Regions from separate parts of the Homo sapiens genome. Here regions 1 and 2 are each linked to region 3. Evidence: promoter capture Hi-C in 16 types of primary human blood cells and fetal thymus (Javierre and others, 2016). All regions are on one chromosome and are shown on one strand. The core of a region is centred on a gene start or on the middle of the fragment in contact, and the rest is flanking DNA. Distances in the headings are between cores, read along the strand shown.

What was found. The method cuts DNA at HindIII sites, captures the fragments that hold promoters and counts their contacts. A CHiCAGO score of 5 or more calls a contact.
Region 1: a contact is called between a fragment that was not itself captured here and the fragment with the promoter of TMEM72 in region 3, in 2 of 17 cell types (fetal thymus and total CD4 T cells). The highest score is 7.0, in fetal thymus.
Region 2: a fragment that was not itself captured here is called in contact with the fragment with the promoter of TMEM72 in region 3 in 9 of 17 cell types (naive B cells, naive CD8 T cells, total B cells and 6 more); the score reaches 13.3 in naive B cells.

Annotation. Positions count from the first base shown.
Region 1 is chr10:43,817,396-43,821,885 of GRCh38, reverse strand. LOC105378275 (a long non-coding RNA gene) reads right to left here. Exons shown (of 3, transcript XR_945906.4): 3 at 3,142-3,379. Among named protein-coding and RNA genes, the nearest start is that of LINC00619, 26 kb to the left of the region's middle. The HindIII fragment of the contact is 3,340 bases long and covers 1,052-4,391 here.
Region 2 is chr10:43,722,400-43,726,836 of GRCh38, reverse strand. No RefSeq gene overlaps it. Among named protein-coding and RNA genes, the nearest start is that of LINC02658, 54 kb to the left of the region's middle. The HindIII fragment of the contact is 1,927 bases long and covers 496-2,422 here.
Region 3 is chr10:44,908,863-44,913,257 of GRCh38, reverse strand. It overlaps TMEM72 (transmembrane protein 72), which reads right to left and starts at 1,921. Exons shown (of 5, transcript NM_001123376.3): 1 at 1,676-1,921. The coding sequence starts at 1,745. The region is part of intron 2 of TMEM72-AS1 (TMEM72 antisense RNA 1); the gene reads left to right. RefSeq lists enhancers at 3,819-4,319, 4,320-4,395. The HindIII fragment of the contact is 1,552 bases long and covers 772-2,323 here.

The DNA.
Region 1 (4,490 bases), core at 1,472-3,971, 1.1 Mb after region 3:
CAGAAAGGCCGCTGCAGCCCTCTCTGCATCCCCTCGGTGTCTGCACATGTCTGTGAAGGGCGGTGCAAAGCAGGGGGCAGTAAAATGAGGCACGAATTAACATTAAAATATATACAATTCAGTGAGCAGTCTCACTGAGGCTTTGCACAAAGCTCCAAGGGAGCAGGAAAGAAATCGGAACTTCCCCACCCCAACCCCGGGATTTTACAGAAAACGTCATGCGGCTGGTGGCCCTCCAACTGAAGGATGAGGTCAAGATGGGACCTGCTCATCCCCAAACTGCCCACCAGACCTCAGTGTGGCTGGCGTGTCCCACAGCATCGGTGCACACTCAATCCATGCAGATAACTCAAGGAACAGCAAAACACAGGCCCAGTGGGGTGGAGTCCTGGGAAGCCTGTGGACAACTGCAACACAGCACTGCAGGATTCATTCATTCCTTCAACAAACACCGCTGAACAGGTACTACATACTGGCCAAGGGCTACATTAAGGCTAGGATGATGAGCAGACCACTCCCCATGCCCAGGGACAGATGAGGGGGATGGCCATGGTTCAGATGTATGACCACTTGGCCCAGTGCCAGCTGCTGGAAGAGTGGAGACTGGCATGGGCTGTGCATGGGCAGAGAGGTTTCCCCAGGGAAATGGCTGCTGTGGAGGGAGGGGACAGGGGTCAGGGAGAGCACTGGAGATGGCAGAAGCACCAAGGATAAACAAGACCTGGAGGGGAGCTCCCACCCCAGGGCTGGAAGGGGAGCCCCAGAGGCTCACGCCTGTGTGGTAATTTTCTCTTCCCCAACTGAAGTCCAAGAAAGACCTTGGAGAATAGTCAGAAGTCTCAAAAATCTAGCAGGTTGTAGCTTGGATTTGGGGTCGGGGAGGGGGTGGAGGTGGACATAAGAGCCTTGGAGGAGGTAAATTAGTAGAATTAGGAGAGGGGGTGCTGAAAGGAGGCTCGGGGACACTCTGATTATTCACTTACATCACTGAACCTTCACCACAGCTTCTCTGACATTTCCTGGATGCATTCATTAGATAGTTATGAAAGCTTCAGGGAGAGCTTGGAGACAAAAAACTATCCAGGCTCCTGCATGCATGCAAATATTATTTTCTTGAATTCAAATTTACACGATAAGTTGGCTGCAAGCAGAATTTGTTTACTTCAAAGCCCTGTGCATGCTCTCTGATAGACAGGAGGCTAAAATTAGCTTGATATATTTGTGGGCATTTTTTTCCTAATTTTAATTAGAAATTAAATTTAGATTAAGTTAGAATTATGTAATTAATCACAATTAATTTTTTTTTTTACCAGCACACTGCTCTGCTAATTTTCTAACTAAAATTTTAGTGCCACAGTACTTATAAGATTTTTTAATGCATTTTATTCACGGTTTCTTGTGTTTTTCCAAAGATAAGTTATTCTTTTTTCCTCTGAAATTTTCTTTTCTAATCTTATCAGTGAACCTTCCTCTAGTTATCAGGGTAATTCCTAATTTCCATTAAGCCCCAGAAGCTCTTCCCAGGACACACAGTGTATTTTCTTTTTCTCTTTATTCATCTTTGAATAAGTATGGCTGTCAGCTAACTTGTCTCAAGTGTCAATTTACATGGTACGTAAGCCCTGACCATCGATCTTTCTTTTTGTAAAGCCTCATCAAGATTATTTTTTAAAATCTCTCTAGCTTATTCTAAAGCATCTTCTAGAGAGTCTGGGAGGAATTCCTCTCATCATTTTAGGAAGACTGAGAACAACAAAGGGTCCACTAATCCCTTAGTTATGGAATGTCACATCCAATGGAAAAACACACAGGGCTGCTTCTGGAAGCTCCAGATCAGCCGCAGAGCCCCTCCGCCCATCTCACAGGCGCACCAGCACCAGAAACCAGCTCCACAGGAAACGCTCGGAGGCCCGCCGTTCACAGAGAAGGCCAGCCATCATGTTTTAAAGCAAAGAACATTCGTTTCCAGAAAGCTAAAAACCTAAGATGTGTGATAATGGAATCATTAATCTACTCTTTGGTGACCACTCCCACTCACTTTGCCCGGCTATAAATCATAAACGCTGTGAAATTGTCAGTGCATTGCGAGGGGCCTTTTGCAAAGGCCTCCTGCACCCCACACCTGACGCCGACAAGGGGTGCGGTCCCCCACCGCACCTCTCTGTGCTTCCAGCCCTGCCCCTCTAGGCACCGGAAATCACTGCCATAGGGGGGCCAGGTCCAGAGAGAGGCACCCACGAAGGTCTGGGCTCACCTTGGCCGCAGCTCATCTACTGCCGCTCACTCCAGACCCTCCCCCTGGCCCCAGACAGCCCCATTCAGGGCTCAGGGGTGTCCTGAGCACCAGGCAGGCTGGGCTTCGACCCTCTCAGCCTAACTTTCCTAACTTTCAGGATCTCGCCGTGTTGCCCAGGCTGGTCTCGAACTCCTGGGCTCAAGCGATCCTCCCACCTCGGCCTCCCAAAGTTCTGGGATTACAGGCGTGAGCCACTGCACCCAGCCTTACTTTAAAACTTAGCTTAGGAGTTTTAGTCCTATTAAGTCCTGAGGAAAATAACCCCTCTGTAGCATAAGTCTTCCCTGTGAGGCCTCTCCTGACCCTCCACCCTATCCGCCTCCAGGACGGTGGCCCTCCCCAGCAAGCCATCTACCTGACCCCCAGACAGAAGGCAGGCTCTTGAAGGGCAGGTCTGGATCCCTCTCACCACAACACCGTCACCGTCCCCAGGTCAGAGCACTTTGCAGGTGTGCAGGTGTCCCCCAGATGGAGGAGGCTCGCCCACAGGAACTCCGCAACCTGGGGAGACTCCCCTGTCAGCCTCAATTTGATTATTTTCAGCTCAAGGAGATGGAAATGTCGGGACTAAGGGGCTGTAAAGACTCTTTAATTCCTACAGCATTGTTGACAAGGAACATCTGGATCTCAACCTCAGTGTCCTTGCCCCAAGCAGCCAGGGACCCAGAACCATACTCACCTCCTCTAGGGGCAATAGCAGATGGGTGCCGGCCACCAAACGCCAGCTCAACCCAAGAACCAGCAATCATTTCAAGTAGGGCACGGGGAGAATCCCAACCCCTTGTGTTGGTTTTACTAGGACTGAGGGGGTGGGTCCACAGTGACATCCAAGTACAATTCTCATTTCAGTTGGGGCTGGTTCAATACTGACACTCAATGAAAAGCATCCTTATCTCATTCAGGAAATAGATTTTTCTTTCTGTTCTTCCAGAAGCATTATAAAAGGATGCCTAAATAATTTCTAGGCAAAGAGGGACTTTCTACCAAGGCACCTACAAACATCACACGCCCCTTTCCTTTCCCCTTTTGCAGTCTGCAAAGTCCATCTTCTACAAGAGTCATGCGGTGCTTGGCTCTTCCTTGCTGAAAAACAAAAAGCACGGTCACAGCCTGCTACCCTTGCTTTCTTCCCACGAAGGAGAAATTGTTATATAGGCATAGCCAGAATCCCCAAAGGGTGTCTACACAAATGCCAGAACATTCAGATCACACATGTTCTCTCTCTACACACATACACACACACACACACACGCACACACACACACACCCATCACACTGGTGTTGGAAGAATTCTGAAATATAAAAGTCTTAATATGGACCCTAGGCTGGGCATAGGGTGGCTCATGCCTGTAATCCCAGCACTTTGGGAGGCTGAAGAAGGAGGATTGCTTGAGCCCAGGAGTTCAAGACCAGCCTGGGCCCACCATGAAGAAACCCTATCTCTACAAAAATGAAAAAAAAATTAGCCAGGCATGGTGGTGTGTGCCTGTATTCCCAGCTACTCAGGAGGCTGAAGTGGGAGGATCACTTGAGCCCAGGAGGTCGAGGTTGCAGTGAGCTGAGATCACACCACTGAACTCCAGCCTGGGTAAGAGCGCAAGACCCTGTCTTACACACACACAAAAAAAGATGGACCCTGAAAATGAATAGGTTTCCACAGGCAAAAAAGTAAGAACGTTTGGAAAGGAAGAACCCTGTGATTTTGATGTTTAATGACCTGCCGGACAAGGACTGTAGCCACCTCAGGCAAGAGAGTCAGTGGGTTGAGTCCTGGCTAGCTGGTCACTAACTTAGTGGCCTTTCAAGGCACTTGGGCCTTGGCCTCCATTTCTGCATCTGTCTCTTGGGGACCATAGTGGTCCTAGGCCAGCTGCATCACAGGGTGCATATGATAGAAGGATCTAACTCCGAGTTAGAAGTGTCTTGCTAAGATATTATTAGTCATTTCTATTATTAAAGTCAAAGTCTAGCATTCAGAGACATTAGAAGGTCACGTTTGTGTGATGAGTGATTCAAAACACGGAAGACTTTGAATGCCAAGTGGATGAACAAGTAGTACTTACACTAAAGGAATTCATGAGAGAAAATGGAAGCTTATATTTATTGAGCAACTACTACGTGCCAGGCACAAGATTTTGTGAAACTGGTGCTAAATATTTACATTTTGCTGATGAGGAAGTGGGGTCTCTAGAAA
Region 2 (4,437 bases), core at 210-2,709, 1.2 Mb after region 3:
CCAGGTTCCTAGGATGTGTCAGAGTTTTTCAAAGCCTCCTTTGGACATCTCAGTCTCTAGCTTTTCCCTTTGGGTTTTTATGGTCAGCTTGTCATTTGCCCCAACTATTATCATCACCTCAGGCAGCAGTGATGCTAAACCATCACCACTGATTGTTTTTGACAAATGTCACTGAGGAAAAGGTTATTTGCACTGGGCAAGCTCTGAGTCAGACCAAATAAAGACAACTCTTATGAGTGGGGAATGACTAGCAGGTCAAACAATGGCAGTTCTCTGGGAATGGGTCTTTGGAGAAGCTGCAGCCCCATTCTGGCCCCTCCACTGGCTGCTGGGCTGCTGTCTTTTACCTCTGCTGTGGGCTGTTGGCTTCCAAGGCTACTGCCAAGCTGTACAGGGAAGACAGAAATAGGGCTCGTTAAAATGTTACAAAGCTTGCTATTCTTACCACAACTTAGTGTTTTTCTTGAGTAAGTGCTTTCCAGATTGTGACAAGCTTTGTTAGTTTCCAGAGTTCTGAAAAAGTTAATTTTCACAATTCTTAGCAGTATTATTGCTAGTTTTATAAAGAGGAGGAGAGGGGTTTGAGATCCTTGCTCCACCATCCCCACTGACATCCTCTTCACATGCTGGTAGAACTATATTAGAGTTATAATTTTTGTTTTAGTTGTCAAACAAACTAGAAAACTTAGGAGAAGAAAAGACTATTGGGCTTAACCATATTTTTGTTCATCCTGTTCTTGCTTTCTTCCTGATGTTCTCAGATTTTTCTTATCATTTCCTGTTTAGAGAACTTCCTATAGCCAATCTTTTAGGGTAGGTCTGCTGGCAACAAATTATCTTAGCTTTCCTTCATCTTTAATGTTTTGATTTTCCCTTCATTCGTGAAGGATATTTTCACTGAATATAAGATTCTGGGTTGACAGTTCTCTTTTTCAGCACTTGTTATGCCACTTCTTTCTAGTGTTGGAGGTTTGATCTTGATTAATCTATTGTCATTTGAACTGTTTTTCCCTGTGGGTAAGGAGGTGTTTTTCTCTCTTGTTGCTTTCAAGACTTTTCTGTCTTTAGTTTTCAGAAGTTTGACTGGGGTGTGCCTTGGTGTGGATCTCTTTGGGTTTATCCTGTTTGGGGTTCACTCAACTTCTGGAGTTTTGTAGGTTTCTGGACTTCACCAAATTTTGGAAGTTTTCAACCATTATTTCTTGGAGTACTTTTTCAGTATCTTCTTCCTCCTCTCCAGGTGGTAATTATTCCATTTTTAATATTCTATCAGATTACTTTGTATCAGTCTATAAATATGCTGCTAGATAAGTATAGTTAATTATTTAGAATTTTTATCTATAGTTGTAAGTGAAAATGGTCTTGTTATAGGTTTGGAATTATGGTTGCAGTAGCCTTATAAAACAAATTGTGGAACTTTGTAACTTTTTCTATGATCTAAAACAGCTTAAAACAGAAATGACATACTATAATTAGCTCCTCTCAAAATCTATTTGAATTTGGTTCTTTTTTTGAGACAGAGTCTTGCTCAGTTGCCCAGGATGGAGTGCAGTGGAGTGATCTTGGCTCACTGCAGGCTCTGCCTCCCGGATTCATGCCATTCTCCTGCCTCAGCCTCCCGAGTAGCTCGGACTACAGGCACCCACCACCACGCCCAGCTAAATTTTTTTGTATTTTTAATAGAGACAGGGTTTCACCATGTTAGCCAGGATGGTCTTGATCTCCTGACCTCGTGATCTGCCTGCCTCAGCCTCCCAAAGTGCTGGGATCACAGGTGTGAGCCACCGCACCTGGCCCGAATTGTTTTTAATTAAAGCTATCTAAGTACTTTTCTCACCTCTTCTGTCACTTGTGACAGATCTGTTTAGTATTCTCCTCCTTCTTAGGTTAATTTTGGTGATTATCTTAGTCTATTCAGACTGCTTTGTCAAAATCTCATTAAGTGGGTAGCTTATAAACAACAGGAATTTGTTTCTCACAGCTCTGGAGGCTGGGAAGTCCAAGATCAAGGAAGCAGCAGATTTGGTGTCTGGTGAAAGCCTGCCTTCTGGTTTGTAGACAGCACTTTTTTGCTGTGTCCTCACATGATGAATGGGGTAAGGCGTCTCTCTTGGGCCTCTTCTGTAAGGGCACTAACCCCATTCATGAGAGCTCCACTCCCATGACCTAGTCATCCCCTAAAGAGCTCACCTTCAAATACCATCACCTTGGGGTTAGGACTTCAATGTATGAATTTGGGAGGGGACACAAACATTCAGACCATAGCAGTGGTTTACATTTTTCCTAGAAAATCATCTATTTCTTATATAATTTCTGTTCATATTTGATGTCATTGAGTTACATGTTATACTACTTATAATTTTTAATATCTCTGTTATATCTGTAGTTAGTTTTGCTTTCTCTCCTTTTCCTTAATCAAGCTTGTTGGGTATTTGTAAATTTAATTGGTCTTTTGAAAGAATCAGCTTTTGTATATTTAATTTGTCTTCCGTAAAAACTGTTTTTGGTTTTATTTATTACTGCTACTATTTTAATGTCATTAATTCTAACTTTCATCTTTGTCAATTGCCTCCTTCTACATTGTTCATTTCTTTGGTTCTTCACTTGGGTTTATGATGTATAAAACCAACTTCTTTTAGCTCCTCAGAGTCTCACTCCATGTGTGATTCAGTTTTCTGGGCTTCAAACCACCCAGGACATTGCTTAGCAAAGCAGGTGCAGCAAGAATGAGTGGATGAAATTATTGACATTGGATCTCATGGTACTGAAAGTCTCCTCATCTATAGCCACATGGCTGGGGTGCCAAAGAACTTTATGAGATGTGTATCTTTGCCTTCAGAGAGGTTAATTTCCCAAGAGTTGGGGTTGGAGGAGAAAAAGCCTGAAAGCCAAAGAATGCAAGGTCACATTAAAGTGTCATCAGAGGAGTAGAGGCTGCAAATCATTTCAGTTCTGCTGGGTCCAACCCAGTTCCTTCTTAGCTTCTCGTCTTGCATTCTGGTAACAAATGTGAGGACATCCAAGAAGAAGGCTATTTTACTCAAAATCCTGGTGCTACAAACAAGAATATTGCATACACTTGTCTAGTGGATAGAGCTTGTGACTTAAGCCCTCTCACTCAGGCATTGTAAAGGATGCTAGAGACACCGCAGGTACATTTTGGAGCTTGAAATTAATCAAAAGATCAACAACATCTCAGCCTTTTTGGAGCACCTTGCAAAATATACAAGTTTACAATATTCTGCTAACTCCCTCTAAACTCCTAAAAGCTCGACAGTGATTTTGTTCTCCCAATTTCCTGAAACCATCGTACCCACTGGATTGGACAACCTCAGCTGGTGGCCATGTGTGCTATAAGAATCATCCATTTTGGACATTAGATTTGGAGAATATTTCCCTGGTTCAAGCAAAAAAGCTCTTCTATCTTTCTGTCATAACAGTCATTTCCACAGTAAACTCTATAGGCCTCTTTGTAAATTTGGAGGCTAAGCAAAGAGGAGAGAGACATTTTCCCTCTTTTGAGAGTAGGCACGTGAGTACCTTAGAGGCACAAACAGCTCTCAAGACTCACTGTCATGCCGCTTGGTTTCCAATTCTTTGCTTTCAACAAAATTGAAGGAAAACCTAGTGAATTTGTCAGCTGACAAATCACTGAAAATAATATTTGATGATAGATTATGATTTGATTTTTGGCAAATACCTAGGAAAGAGTTCAAAGTACTGACAAAACAAAACTCCATTCTCATCTACTTACATAAAAGAGTAAAGGTTCTCAGGCTTAGATTTATAGAAACTGAAAATAAGTAATATTCATCTCTCTATGCATGAACTAATTTATTAAAATGTCCCATATATCTCCTTTAATACTAAATAAATAAATTTACCATAAAATTTTTACTTTTATATACTTTCTCCAAATTTATAATATTTTCATGGTATTTTCATCAATTGAATACTAATAATATTATAATAATTCAACTAACAATAAACATTCTTTTATTTTTTTATTATACTTTAAGTTTTAGGGTACATGTGCACAATGTGCAGGTTAGTTACATATGTATACATGGGCCATGTTGGTGTGCTGCACCCATTAACTCGTCATTTAACATTAGGTATATCTCCTAATGCTATCCCTCTCCCCTCCCCCCACCCCACAACAGGCTCCAGTGTGTGATGTTCCACTTCCTGTGTCCATGTGTTCTCATTGTTCAGTTCCCACCTATGAGTGAGAACATGCGGTGTTTGGTTTTTTGTCCTTGCAATAGTTTGCTGAGAATGATGGTTTCCAGCTTCATCCATGTCCCTACAAAGGACATGAACTCATCATTTTTTATGGCTGTATAGTATCCCATGGTGTATGTGTGCCACATTTTCTCAATCCAGCCTATCATTGTTAGACATTTGGGTTGGTTCCAAGTCTTTGCTATTGTGAAT
Region 3 (4,395 bases), core at 672-3,171:
GGAAACCAAAGCCTAGAGGGAGCAGGGTGGACTCAGATCAACAGACATGGAAACCTATTTAGGGTGGCCTTCCTCTCCCCAGGATGGCTTTTTTGCTTGTTGGGGGTCTTGGCCATCATTCTCTTATGTGTAGACGACAACGTGGTTCTGAAAGTGGCTGGATCTGGCTCCTCCCTCAGTGCCTCCACTCAGAGCCTCAGCAGAGCAATTCTGAACCTCTTCCTGCTGCCTACTCTGGAAGACAGGGAAGGTTTTGGCCAGAGCCCTGGCCTTTGTGAAAGTTGAAGGACCAGGGCTCCGGGCTGGCTGTCCCTCTGACCATGACCTTGGGCAAGGTCACCACCTGCATTTGAGCTCAGGTGCCCCATCCTGTAGCAGGAGGGGTGGGGTTAAACCATCCAGCAGCCCTTCATGATCTAACTCATGGCCTAGATGCTGGAAGAGCCCACTGGCCAGCTCACGGCTGAACCCAGCCCAGTGCTCCTGAAATGACCCAGCTTCCCATTGAGCTCTGGAGTGTGTCATGGGGGCTTCTGCTGAGAGGTTTTCATCCTCAGTTCCACTTAGCCATGCTCAGTTCCTGCATCCTTAATCTGTCCAAACACCTGGCCAGCAGGTCCCCATCATACAGATCAGAAAGTGCAGCCTCAGAGGGGTCAGGGGCTCCCCAAGGTCATATATCACGCAAGTGACTAGGCTGGGGCAGGAACAAGCACTATGTGATTTTGACCTAGGAGAACTTTCCCATTTGGTAAGACCCGTGGGTAAGCTTTTGCCCAGTGGTGGGGAAGGGCTTTGATAGGGGGTGTGTCTCTCTTTGTCCCCAAGGGACAATGTGGCTCAGAGTTAAGGGCTCAGAATTCTGCCTGTTCATTTCCCCAAAACAGATCCTGGCTCTGTAGGGGGAATGGGGCTAAGGGTCAGGCCTGCCCTGGGGAAGCGAGCAGGCAGGGCTCAGGATGGTGGCTCTGGGCTCTGCTCTAACAGTCTGCCCTCCTGTCCAGTTGAGCAGCCCTGTGATTCTGCTGGGTGAAGGAAGGAGCCCAGCATCTCTGGGAAGCATCTCTGCTGCTAAGACCACAGTGCATTCCTGCAGTCAGACCTCAGACAGGGGTCTGGGTTCCTACAGGGTGTTCTGTTAACAGGGTCCAGCATGGGCCCGAGGGAAGCCTGTGATCTCCACGTCCAGCCAGGCTCAGCCTGTCCCTCCAGGGCAGAGCTGCTCATGACTGGGAGTTCTCTCTCCATGAGGTAGGGCTATGGTTTGAGTAAAGCAGGATGAGCTCAGTTGACCTTTTGTAGATACACAGCGAAGCCCAGCCCTTTCTATCTTCACCTTCTGTCTCCACCTCCATCTCATGACAACTCTCTGCGTAGGTGGGGTGGCCCCTGGAATCATTTTGCAGATGAGGATCTTGAGGCTTCCCAAGGTCACAGGGAGGGTGACTTGCCAAGCAAAGATCCAGCACCCAGCCCTCTGGTCCCCAGCCCTAGGCTCACCCCACTGCACTTGCTGCTGCTCTACAGAGCAGTGTTTCTAGGGGTCTTGGGAAAAAAATTGAAGCACAGAAGTGGCCAGATGTGCCTGCTGTCTCCTGGCCACCTCCCACCCCTCAGGCAGCCCTATCTGTGGTGCCAGTGTGCAAGGATCAGCAGCCAGGAGGCAGGGTCTTACCTGCAGCAGTGGTGATGCCCAGGAGCCGGCAGGTGTATTCCAGCCCAGTCCAGAACACCTGGAGCTGCATGGTGCCAGGGGTGAGGACAAAGTCCTGGCAGGGCAGGCAGCAAAGTCTTCGGCCCTGAGATGCTCCCGAACACCCTTGTGTAGGTAGGAGGCTGCTGGCTGTGGCTGCACACCGGGGCCCTGCCTTCCCAAACCAGTCCTGGCCACCGCAGCCTGGCCGAGGTGTGAATAGGGCTCACCTTCTGTGCTCTCAGCCCGTGCCCTTGCCAGGCACTCAGCTTAATCATTACCTTGGAAGAATGCTCCTGCTGCTCACACAACCCCAGCCTGGGCTGGAGCCGCTCAGCCCCAGCGCAGCCCAGCCGCCTGAGATCGGCGATTAGGGCTGGGCTGGAGGCAGTCTGGAGCTGGCAATTAACCGTTTCTGGCTGGGAGGAGGGAGCCAAGGAGTGGGCCAGGCCCTTCCTCACCAAGCCATGCCTAGAAAGTCACACCTGGATTTCACACTTGCTGGGGGCCTGTAGTGTCTGGCTCTGGAGGGGACAGTGCTCTTGCAGGTCTGTGCTTATGTGCATATGGGAGAGAGGAGTGTGTCTTTAAATCACCAGTAGAAACAACTTTTGAAATGAGTTCCAAGCTTTATTCTTCTGCGTATAGGTGGATTAGAAAGCTTTTCAAATCTGTCCCGGATTTGGACTCTGACTAGACATACTTAGCTCAGGCCCCGCCACGCAGAGGCCTTCCTTCCTCATTAACATGCATCCCAACATGGGACGTGGGAAATCATTTTGATTCTTTGTTTTGCGAGGGGAGTTGCTATGTCAATAATTAACCGGGTGACCTTGGGGAAACCCAAAGGCATCTGTGAGCCTTGGTAACTTTTGCAGAAAATAAATGTGAAGTTTTGGCTGAATTGGTGTTTTTGATGTACTTGGAGTGTCCCTGTAGCTGTTTCAAGGAGCCCAGCCTTTACACTTGGACAGTGGTGGGCTTTCCCTCATTCTTAATTTACTAACGGATGTGCTAGATTGAATGGTATTAAGATTTATCTCTCAGGTGTTTTTCTGAAATCTTTTACCCCTTTGCTCATATAAGATAGAAAACAAAACAACCAAATAAGGAAAAAAACTCCAAGCAAACCCAATACACATGCTCCTCAACTTATGATGGGGTTATGTCCCAAAAAACCCATCAGACATTGAAAATATTTTAAGTTAAAAATGCACTTAATCCAACCAACCTACTGAACATCAGAGCTTAGCCTGGCCTACTTAAATGTGCTCAGAACACTTAGTTTATGGTTGGGCAAAATCATCTAACACAAGGTTTATGTTATAAAGTGTGGAGTAGCTCATGTAAGAATATATTGTAGGGCATGTTGCTAGCCCAGGAAAACATCAAAATCCAAAATTTAAAGTACAATTTCTACTGAATGTACATCATTTTCACACCATCCTAAGTTGAACCATGGAAAGCCAAGGTCTGCCAATAATAACGGAAAACTCAAGAACAATTAGTTTGGCCCTTCCCTCCCCTCCCTTCCCCTCCCCTCCCTCCCCTTCTCCTTCCCCTTCCCCTTCCTTTCTTTCCTCTTTTCTTTTTTTTTTTTTTTTTGAGACAAGGTCTTGTCTGTTGCCCAGGATGGAGTGCAGTGGCACAATCTTTGTGGCCTCAACCTCCCAGGCTCAGGCGATCCTTCCACCTCAGCCTCCTGAGTAGCCGGGACCACAGGTGTGCACCATGCCTGGCTTGCATGTTTCTTGCTTGAGGATGATACACCCTCAACATATATAATGAATAGATATTTTTTGCTATTAAAATTATTTTAATTTGATTGATTAATTTGATCAAGAATCATGGCATTCCATAAAGATTACCGTTTTTTGTATTTTTCCGCCTTGAATGAGTTTAGGAACTTCTGTGCTCGTGTGATCTTCAAGATCAAGTTTATGAGTGTATGATTTACATATTTATTTCCTGGGTTAGTTGTTTTCTATTAGCAGACTATCAACTTCAATCTTCTTAAACTTTGACATATCTTGACACCACACACACCCACTCCCCCAAATGCAGGTGTTCCGGTCTCTGTGGCATATGCTGAATTGCACAGATGGAGCTGCGGGGGCTGGGCTTCAGCAGCGATGGCAGCTCCCTGTCCTTTAGGAACCCTTGATTTGCATGGGTCGGGAAGCTCTGGCTGGCCCACAGTGCTCACTTGCTTCTTGCTGGCCAACAGCCACTTATTTTTTTTTGTATCTGATGGTCACCTGCTCAGAAGATACGAATTCCTTCCGGGCCTGGCTTGGCAGGGACTGTTCAGTCCACAGGTTAGTCTACTGTCTCCCTTTCCCAGAGACTACTTTAGGAATGAGAGGGTGTGACCCAGTTCTGGTCAAATAGCCCAGACAGGGTGTGTGCTGAGGAGCTTCTGGGAAAGCCTCTCTTGCTTTTAACAAGAGGGAGAGGACCAGCTGCACTCCCTCCCTTTGGATGCACCTGCTCAGGGTGGCCAGCTGTCTCCTGTTGTGGCAGGGCTCAGCCAAGGCCATCACCAGCTCAGGTCCTGGCCCATGAGACAGGAGCAGCACTGGGCAGTGGGGGACGTTTTGGAGCTGCTAAACTTACCTGTTCTTAATTGTCAAATGGGTGATGTCGGCTTCCAGTTAGAGCTAAGAGCATTGTGCTGACGGTGGACTGTGTCTGAGCTGTGC